Linked DNA regions of Homo sapiens: regions 1 and 2 are each linked to region 3. The links are contacts of gene promoters, found by promoter capture Hi-C in human tissues and cell types (Jung and others, 2019). All regions are on one chromosome and are shown on one strand. The core of a region is centred on a gene start or on the middle of the fragment in contact, and the rest is flanking DNA. Distances in the headings are between cores, read along the strand shown.

Evidence for each region. Contacts are between HindIII fragments. The study calls those that stand out against the background at their distance.
Region 1: a fragment that was not itself captured here is called in contact with the fragment with the promoter of SLC22A1 in region 3 in 1 of the 25 tissues and cell types used here (liver).
Region 2: a contact is called between a fragment that was not itself captured here and the fragment with the promoter of SLC22A1 in region 3, in 1 of the 25 tissues and cell types used here (liver).

The regions. Positions count from the first base shown.
Region 1 is chr6:160,251,739-160,254,981 of GRCh38, reverse strand. All of the region lies in intron 2 of SLC22A2 (solute carrier family 22 member 2), which reads left to right. Among named protein-coding and RNA genes, the nearest start is that of SLC22A2, 5.5 kb to the left of the region's middle. The HindIII fragment of the contact is 3,650 bases long and covers 1-3,114 here.
Region 2 is chr6:160,269,037-160,272,727 of GRCh38, reverse strand. It overlaps LOC105378088 (a long non-coding RNA gene), which reads right to left and starts at 149. Exons shown (of 2, transcript XR_001744437.2): 1 at 15-149. The HindIII fragment of the contact is 6,937 bases long and covers 1-3,691 here.
Region 3 is chr6:160,120,241-160,123,803 of GRCh38, reverse strand. SLC22A1 (solute carrier family 22 member 1) reads right to left here and starts at 1,989. Exons shown (of 11, transcript NM_003057.3): 1 at 1,458-1,989. The coding sequence starts at 1,868. LOC124901452 (a long non-coding RNA gene) reads left to right here and starts at 2,109. Exons shown (of 2, transcript XR_007059842.1): 1 at 2,109-2,962. The HindIII fragment of the contact is 5,449 bases long and covers 1-3,563 here.

The DNA.
Region 1 (3,243 bases), core at 40-2,539, 130 kb before region 3:
ACACTCACTCCCTGACAGGCTGTGAGTAAACAGGTGACTCAATCTTTAACCCTTGCTCAGTGGGTTAAGAAATTAGTTAATTATTCACATCCCACTCAACAAGTAGGAGATTGGTCATAAATCCCTACTGACAGTGCATTCCTGTGTTATAAGCCCTGGTCAATTATCCACCTTCTTAGATGATCTCATTATTTTGTTCCTATTGTTGAAATCCCCTCTGTCAAGGTAAGTACTCATTATTCTTCCCCCAAAGGCTGTCTCCATGCCTCGACTTCTTTTTCTTACACCATCTGAAGCTTGGCCGGTCATTGCCCTTCTTCTGTTCTGTGCCTGCATGCAGGAGTGAGAAGCCTAGCCTAAAGAAATGAGAAAGCAATTTGTTTTTTGTATAGTTAATGCCTACAATTTCCAGATTTTATACAATAGGACAAGAATGTCATGGATCCCCATTGTATTCACAGATTAAGCCAACTTTAAATAAAACACATTGTCTTCCATGAATAATTTTTTAAAAAAACAGTAAGGCATTATGAAAAGATTGTAAATAAGACTAAGAGTGGACCCAAGTATAACCCATAACTTCCTCATCAATGATTTTGAGTGTCACCTGAGACAAAAAAGCAATTCCTCACCAATCCCAGGGTTTTTTTAATTTTAACAAGCAGCAATTATAAGTACTATATTTTTTATTTTTTTTATTTTTTGAGACAGAGTCTCACTCTATCGCCCAGGCTAGAGTGCAGTGGTGCAATCTTGGCTCACTGCAGCCTCTGCCTCCTGGGTTCAAGCAATTCTCCTGCCTCAGCCTCCTGAGTAGCTGGGATTACAGGCGCCTACCACCATGCCCAGCTAATTTTTGTATTTTTAGTAGAGACAGGGTTTCACCATGTTGGCCAGGTTGATCTCGAACTACTGACCTTAGGTGATCTGCCCTCCTTGACCTCCCAAAGTGCTGGGATTATAGGCATGAGCCACTGCATGTGGCCATAAGTGCTATATTTACTGTGTCATGCTTGTGAATGCTTAACAACTAGTTCTCTGGGAGGGAAAGCCCCAGTTTGTAGTGTTTATTGATTGCTCTGGTGTAAATATACCCACTGTGGTTCACTTCAGCCTACAAAAATGACATCACAGGACATAGAGTTGGCTAGAAGTGTGCACCATTACACAGCATTTCCACCATGCAGATACAGTAGATGTAAATAACCTCACAAGCACAGATGGCCAAATATAGTAAAATCATTGGAAAGTGATGTTTTGCATATTACACTTGCTTTCAATATAATTTAGTTGTAAATGTATATAATTTAATTTTTAATAATGGTTATGCTAACAATTAGCTTGCAAATTTTCTGTAAGTCTGATCATTAGCTCTTAAGAGCCAGCACCCTACTTTTATGTGTTGTGATGGAACTAGATCAAAGTGAGCTAGGAGGAGGGACTTGACTCTGGAGGCGGGGCTTGGACACCAGACCAAACTGAGGACTAGCTAAAACAGGTCCCAGGCAGGAGCAGCTTTCCATAAGACATGACCACCAGTGCACCATGTCGGTTTACTATTGCCATGGCAACATGGCAATCTCCAGCCCCTTTTAATGGCAATGACTCTACAACCCAGAAGTTACCACCCTTTTCCTAGAAATTTCTGCATAAGCCACCCCTTAATTTGCATATAATTAAACGTGGGTTGCATATAATCAAATTTATAATTTAAATTAATTTGCATATAATTAAAAATAAATATGAGTACAGAACAGACTCCTCTGAGCTGCTATTCCAGGCACACTGCCTATGGAATATCCCTGCTCCACAAGGAACAGAGGTGCTGCTGCTATACATTGCAGCTTCAATAAAAATGGCTATTTAACAACACCAGCTTGCCCTTGAATTCTTTCCTGGGCAAAGCCAAGAACCCTCCCAGGCTAAGCCCCAATTTTGGTGCTTGCCTGTCCTGCATCAAAAGCAGAACTAAAGTCCCAGTGGGTTGCAGTCATACTTACCCAACTATATGGGATCTTCCAAAACACGTTCACCACTGATTACTGTGTGCTAGTCACTTTACTGGGCATCCTCATTTGTTATATTTCATTTAGGATCACGAGAGCCTTTTAAAGTAGATTTCATTATCCATAATTTACAATGGATGAAGAAACCGAGGCTCTGTGAAATTAAAGCACTGCTTCCCAAATGCTAAGTTGCATATAAATCTCCTGGGGATCTTGCTAAAATTCAGATTCTGATCCAGCAGATCTGGGTGGGCCCAAAATTCTGTATTTCTAACCAGCTCCCAGGTGATGCTGTTCCCAAGCCCATGCTAATAGTCCTCAGCCACATTCTGAGTCACAAGTAGCTAAAAGACTTACCAAGCCAGCAGTATGGGGAGTCCACCCTTCCTGTCCTGTTTCTTCTGATTGTTTTCCATTTAACCATTTAAATAGCCCTGCTGAGGGGTAGGAGGAGTCTCAGACCTCTATCCCAGATTCCCCAAATTTATTCTAGCCATGCCTTATTATTCTTTTAAGTAGCATTGCTTCCCTATGTGGAACATGTCTCCAGTGAAGTTTTTCCACATCATGGATTTGATTTTCTTGCTCTGAGTTTCAGATGATGAATATTCCCTCTCATCACCTAAAAGATTTTGTCCATCTACATGGGGCACTACTGTGGTGTTCTACTGTGTGCCTGAAGCAGTTTTGAAAGTTGAAGAAGTACCATTTGAGTCAATGTTTATAGATTATATACTCTTTGAGGGTAAAGGAAGGGGTTTGGGTAGGAAAATGTGGGAAGAAATGCTAAAAAATTAAGTTGAGATATGACTTTGGAAGGCTTTGAATTAGAGGCCAAGAGGTTGTATATTTACAGCAGGGAGCCATTGACTGAGAATTAAGAAATTACATCGTTACCTAGGTGATGGGTTGATAGGTACAGCAAACCACAATGGCACACATTTCCCTATGTGACAAACCTGCACATCCTGCACATGTACCCCAGAACTAAAAATAAAAATTTTTAAAAATGAAATTACATGGTCAAAACAGAGTTTTAAGACTTAAGAAATTTACTAGTTAATACTAATTACCAATGTAACTGCTTAACCTTAAAATTTCATATTTAAAATATTACTCTTCCAAAATAATTATTAATAATGTGGATTATTTTGAAATGGTTAGTATTTGACACCTTCACTAGAATATAGTTGCATAATAATAAAAGCATCAATTAAACAATGTTTATCCACCATTA
Region 2 (3,691 bases), core at 397-2,896, 150 kb before region 3:
ATAAGAAGGCTTACCAGACTTCTCTCTTACATTGATGGAGCTGTGTTTCTCTAATTAACCAGGTAGGTTTCATTGCTGACTGCATTACTATGATCTCAGAGACCTAACATCTAGGAGAGTCTAGGGGAGAGCTGCTTCCATGTGATTCTGCTCTGAGCTCTGTACTTTTTCTGATGAGACCGGAAGGCCACACCCCCAAGCATGGTATCATAGGCTATCATTCTTTGGGACTGCTTCCACTATCACAGTGTTAGATCTCTAGATGGAACTCTCCTCCCCATCTAATGCTGGTTTGGTTTCTTTGTATTGAGTAACTAAAGCTTATTGGTCACTTACCAGATGACTAGCTTGGGAGAGACTGAATATACACATGGACAATGGCCAGACCACGTAAAAAGTTAGAACTCTACAATCAACCCCAACTGGAGAGAGTGAACTAAGTGCCCTAACCAACTACAGAGGATGGATACACCACCTCTGGATAGCCCACTTCGTTCCAGCTTCCCCGGCCAGCAGCCTCCAGTCAGCACACACCTGACACCTTCCCTTTTCTGCTATGAAGCTTCCCCACTCCTCTGCCTGCCTATGAATCTCTGCCAGAACACACATGATGGCAGTCACAGAGCAAGTTATAGCCCATCTGGGACAAAGTACAGATTCTTTTCTGGGTCAGGACTTGCTCCATTATACAGCAAGATGCTTACAGAACCCCTTTCAGCCCCAAAGCTGCCTACGGACTTTTATATCCCTAATTTAGGGACTAGAGAATCATTTGTATAACTTTAAAATCCAGTGGAATTTGGCTTTATTGTCCCCAATTTATAATGAGTTACTATTCCTATACCTCATTTGATTTTTTTGTCAAATAGCCTTCCATACTATGTAAATAAGTATGACAAGGTTCCCACTATGGGCACCAAATTATTTTAGGGCTTTCAAAAATGTCAGCACATCCTATCTTTTTATTTTTCTTATTCTCAAGCTTTTTGTGATTCCATTCAACATTTCCTACTAAGACATGCCACTACTCCTGAAAATTATGGTGGTTTTGTAATTCACAAAATCGCTTCAAAAGAGTATGGAGTGTGTATGTATGTGGGAATGGCCCTCACTCCACACTGCATTGGAAGGTCTTTCCTTAAAACAGAATTCAAACTTCTCATCAGGATAGGTTTGGGAAAAAGGGAAGAAGGTGGATGGGAGTGAGGTGAACAATGATGAATGAGGAAGGCTGAGGCCAGCAGAGCGGGGCAGAGCGGGGCAGAGCAGGCCTGCGCACTGCTGGAAGACCAAAGTCAGAGCAAGGCCCAGGAAATCTCTGATGCATACGTCATCCGCATCAGTCTAGGACCAATCCGTCACCACGCTTGTTTATCCCTCATCTCTCCCTTCCCGTTCCTTAATGAGGGGAGAGGCAACAAAAGGAAGGAGGGGAGCGATCCAAGGAGCGGGTGTTTGGTTGGGCTCTGTCTTAATCCGTTTGAGCTGCTGTAACAAAATACCTTAAACTGACCAATTCATAAACAACAGAAATGTATTGCTCGCAGTTCAGAAGGCTCAAAAGTCCAAGGTCAAGATGCCAGCAGATTAAGGGTCTTGTGAGGTTTCATAGATGGTGTCCTGTTGCTGCCTTCTCACATGGCAGCAAGGGCGAGGAAGCTCACTCAAGTCTCTTTATAAGGGCGCTAATCCCATTCACGAGGGTGGGGTCCTTGTGACTTAATCACTTCCCAGAGGCCCCACCTCTTAATACTATCACATTGGGCATCAGTTTCCAACATATGAATTTGGCAAGGGACACCAAAATTCAGACTATAGCATGCTTTGTCCCTAGGAATACAGGAGTGAGACTATGAGGGCCTGGAGATTTCAGTGAGAAGCCGATCAGCAAAGATGCTCCCCACCTTGCCGTGAAGCACATCACAGAATTACTACTAGATTCTGGAACCCCCTGCCATAGTTGTGTTGGCTTCTAGGGCTGTGGTGACAAAGGACCGCAAACTGGGTGGCTGAAACCAACAGAAATTTATTCTCCCATGGTTCTAGAGGCCAGAAGTCTGGTACCAAGGTGTCAGCAGGGCCATGCCGCCTCTGAAATCTGTAAGGGAGAACGCTTCCTTGACTCTCCCAGCTCCTGGGGTGGACGTGGATCCCTGGTGTTCCCTAGCTCACAGCTGCAGCGCTCCAGCCTCTGCCTGCATCTCCACAGCCATGTGCATATGTCTCTTCTCTTCTTGTAAGGACACCAGGCACATCGGACCAGTGGCCCACCTACCCCAGCAGGACCTCAAGTAATTACATCTGTAACAGCCCTGTCTCCAAACAGGGTCACCTCTGAAGTGCTGGGGGTTAGGACTTCAACATATATTTTGGGGGAACCCAACAGTAACCTTCTGTCCTTTTTTTCCATGGTGATTGTGCTTAAAAGCCTTAAAAAGAAAATCCTGTGTAGAAGGAAGGACCCAGGGAGATGAAGTCCTTTGTGTCCATCAGGCTTGAAAGAAGAGAATCCTAGGTTCTCCCAGAAGAGGCTCTGTTACGTGGCAGGAAAACACAAGCAAACTGATTTCCCCTCCTATGCTCTCAGCACAGCACAGAACACTTCTGTGACCAGATGTCCGGGTTTTTCCCCACACATCAATTCTGACAGTATCTACTGGGAGTTGCCATCCACAAGTTAAGGGCCCAGTCCCACAAAACTGCCTGTATGATGCCAATTGCAAGGCTGGACCTCCAGAACTTCCAATGAATCAGCTATAAATCAGGAGTTCCCATGACTTCCGCCTCAGGTTTGATTCATTTGCTAAAGCATCTCATGGAACTCCGGGGAACAGTTTACTTACATTTACCAGTTTACTACTAATATCAAGGATATTGTAAAGGATACAGATGAGCACCAGATGGAGAGATGCACAGGGTAGAGCATGAGGATGGGGCACAGAGGGAACCTTCCCTCCCTCCAGGCACTCCCCCATGTCCAACAACCCAGAAGCTCTCCACACCCTGCAGTTCAGGGATTTTTATGGCAGCTTCATCACATACGTGTCATTGATTATTAACTCCATTTCCAGCCCCTCTTCTCTTCCCAGAGGAGATGGCTTGGTCTTTCTGGTGACCAGCCCCCATGCAGGAGTCCACCAGGAAAAAAAGACGCTCCTGCCACCCAGGAAATGCCAGGGGTTAGGAGTTTTGTGTCAGGAACCAGAGTCAAAGACCAAACATCAGAATAAAAGATGCACCTAGCACCCCTATTGCCCAGGAAATTACAAGGGTTTTTGGGAGGTCTGTGCCAGGAACTCGGGGCAGAGACCAATAGATATTTCTTACTATAGTACAGTATCACAGTCCGCCCCCTGTCTCTGGCCACCAATCTCTTACAGCAAAATGATATACAACTCAAAAGATACTGTCACATGACTAGAATCCCACTCATTCATTAATAGTTAGTCCAGTCCATCATCATATCTTATGGAAATGTCTCCCAGGGTGGGGCTACTCAGATTTGCAGGCTTCCACCCTGTCCTGTAGGGCTTCAAAAGCAGGAGTGGCCTCGGCAAACACATAGCTTTACCCTTCTGGGCATCTGGGATAATTGAGCTAAGAGGCAATGATATCTCTTGCTCTGGAGCATTTTCAGTGTTAATATAATATGAGACTTCCCTCATTACAGGAGCGTTTTATTCACTCCTTT
Region 3 (3,563 bases), core at 740-3,239:
ACAAGACTGCAGACTCCTTGAGGGACCTCACAATCTTCTTCTGCATCTCCCCTGCGGCATCACACCCAGTGCCAGAATAGAGGGAGTATGCCGAACATACTGGGTGGATGTCTGACTGGAGGAATGATCACATCTGATCTCCTCAAAGCAGAGTATGTCTCAGTCCCAGAGAGCAAACACATCCTCATCCTGGTCTGCTTCTAGATTCCCAGTGGGAATGTCAGATGGTTGGAGATCCCTGGAAGGTGGGCTGCCTAACTTGTCATCCATTGTTGGAGGATGCCTTGGAGACAAGATGTCTCTTCAGCATCGTAAAGCCAGTTGCACCGGCACCTGCTCTGCTCCAGGCAAGCAGGTAGAGCAATGCTCAGGCCCAGAGGGGAGGGACCCTAAGCTTTCCTCCAGTAATAGCCCTAAATGTGTCACCGCTGATACCACTCAGGAAAGGGAAAAGAGGAAGAACAGAGACCCAAGAAGTCCGGAGAGCTTGGGCGAGGGTAGTGGGGGCAGACAAGTGGGCAGGACCAGAGGCAGGGAGGGCCCAGTTACCTCTTATTTCAGGGAAGCAGTGCCTGCACCAAAACCACGCCACTGCTCGTTACTAACAGAAGGCCCCTGACGGGCTTTGGCCCACAGCTTCTCCAACCCACCAAGCATCCACACTTGTTACCGTGCAATAGTTTCAAAAGGGCTCATGATGGGAAAAAAATGTGGTGACACTTTTTACTAAAGGATTCTCAAAGCAAAATGCTCAAATAACCAAGTAAACTACTCAAGCAAGGCCCTTTTGAGGCCATCGCCCTATCCCATGGGCCCCATCGGACTGCACGGTGTGACTCAGTTTGGATTTGCTCAGTGCTTTCACAGATCCCAGCTGAAGCTCACACCCCTATGAGGCAGCCGTCATCATCCCTGGTTGACTGATGAGGAAATGAGGCTTAGAGAGGCAGTGACTTACCCAGTGATGCTCAGCTAATAAGGGGCACAGCTGGGATTCCACCAAATATTCTCACTTCCAAGCCAGGGCAATTCCAGGCCACCTCAACACCATCATTGAGGTCAATCGTCATCACTCTTGAGCAGAAGGAGGGGGCCCACAGTACTATTGGTGGGGAAGCGGGACCCAGAGCAAGTTGATAGTTCTGGGAGAAGCCAGTGGGGCAGGCAGAGAGGCTCCTGGTCTCCCAGTCAACTCCCATTCAAGCAACCTGGCAACCTGGCCCCCGACTTGTGCTAGCTGTTCTCTCCTGCCTCAGCTTCCTCCTCAAAGACCCAGAGTTTGTGGTGGATTAAACTAGAGAAGAGAATGCCCCGTGCCTGGGACACAGCCAGACACCCACGAACTGCACAATAAACATAGCCCCCTACCTCTTTCCTGATATGGAACTGAACTTCATAGGATTTGCTTTATATTTCTCCCTGTCCCAGGAACTCCCATGTTACAGAGGCTTTTTTACCTCAGTGACGATGGAAGAGCCGGGCGTGTCATACACCCAGCCATCCTGGCAGGGACCCAGCGGCAGGTGGCTCCTGTTGGTGGCCAGGCTAGCCAGGGGGTCTACACAGCTGAGGGCGCTCTGGTTCCAGTCCACTTCATAGCGCCTGCACTGGCCAAGGAAGGCCTCGCCCGCGGGCCCCAGGCCTGGCACTGTATAGTTCAGCTCCTCCGCAGGGCTCCAGCCACAGCGCTGGCTCAGCTCAGCCACCCCAGGACTCTGGCAGTGGTGGTCAGGTGTGAAACCCAGGAAGACGATGCCCACACAGATGGGCGCAAAGGCAGCCGACAGCAGGCATAAGATGAGGAAGGCTTGCTTCTGGAACCAGCCAGACTCCCCAACCTGCTCCAGAATGTCATCCACGGTGGGCATGATGGCTCAGCATGCTCATGGCCGTGGCCAGACCTGCTCTGGGCTGCAGTGGCCAGGTGCAATGTCTCCCTCAGAGATCTTTGAAAAGGAGTGGTTTGAAATCAGTTTGCTGTCCAAGTGTGAAACATCTGGAAGGCAACCAAGTAGAAATAATCTTTTACCCTATGGTGCTGGTTTCAGGAAAAGGAAGAATGCACGTGGCCATCTGATCAAATCGTTTGCTTTGCCCGGGAGCGAGTCAGTGGGGTCTAAGCCCGAAGAGAATTGAAGTTCAGCCACAGAGCAAGAAGAGGGCAGGAGAGCAGGCCGTGCAAACCTCCTAGTAGCTCCCTCAGGGCTCTTCCAAAAAGAATATCTACTTGTTTTCTAGATGTGATGGTATGAGGCAAGTATTGGGTGACAGCCAGGTACTAGATACTGTATTCGGCTAATTAGTTCTGTGATACCATTTAAGTATTTTTTTTAGTTTTTTTTTCCCATAGGTTTTGAGGGAACAGGTATTATTTGGTTACATGAGCAGGTTCTTTAGTGGTGATTTGTGAGATTTTGGTGCATCCATCTCCCAAGCAGTATACACTGCACCCAATTTGGGTGTTTTAAGCTCCACCTCTTCATTTGTGTGTGTGTATACATGTCTAGATGTGTTTACTTGTATGTACACTTACTGTTATATGTTGTGTCTACCAAATTGGCTTATAAGTAAAAGAGTGTTCATAAATTAAGTAAATAAGTCTAAGCAATTTTCAAATTCACTTAAGTATGACTTTGCTAAATAGGCTGTCTTTTAAATTATCAGTAAAATGAAAATAGAAATGTCTTCAAAATATAGACATGGTCTAAATTATGCAAGTCAGAAACTAGGTTGACTAAATGCTTTAAGGTCATAAACTGCTTTGGCTTTTGAAAATTGTTCAACTTTCCTGCTTTGCAGTTTGGTAGGGCCTGCCCTAGCTATGCTGGAAATAGTTAGACCTCATCTGCACCTAAGTACGTAACTAAAATAACTTACTGGGTATTTCACCAAAATTAACAATTACTAAGAGCTACCATTATAACATGTAGTGATGACTACTGAAAACAGATCTACACGTGAGGTGAGTAAGGAGAGTAAAATGTATCATTAGTAAAATAATATAAGAAGGCATGGGAATGTAAATTTTTGCCTAGTTCAGAGGGTTAAATGATTGTTTTAAATTATATAAGATAAAGCTTAAGGTTCAAACAAGTTATGGAAGGTTTGTAAAAAATTAATCTTGTAAAAGGAATCCTGTGTGTAAACATATTGACTACACTAAAAAGGATATTATTTGGTTTTCCATAAGTTGAACAATGGAATACAAGCACAACAAGGTTTTCTTGAAGCACTTACATGCTGTTTAACAAAAAAAATTTGTAAAAGGTTATAAAAGATTTATAACAATCTCAGTTCATGATCAAACTGATTAAGATTGGATGGATTTCTCTGTAAGGTTTTATTTTTTTTAATTGGGGTTGACATTAATAGACTAATGTAAGGGTAAAATTTGGCTTTCACTTGAACAAGATTTTCATGCAATGAAAGATTTTGTTTTCTTTGTGAATAAGCTACTGACACAAGAAGGGAAGGACAAGAGATCAACAGGACTCCAGGGTCAATAGGGCTCCATAGCTGAGGGGAAGGGAGCTCAGCAGCCTGACATGCTGGCGAAAGGGTAA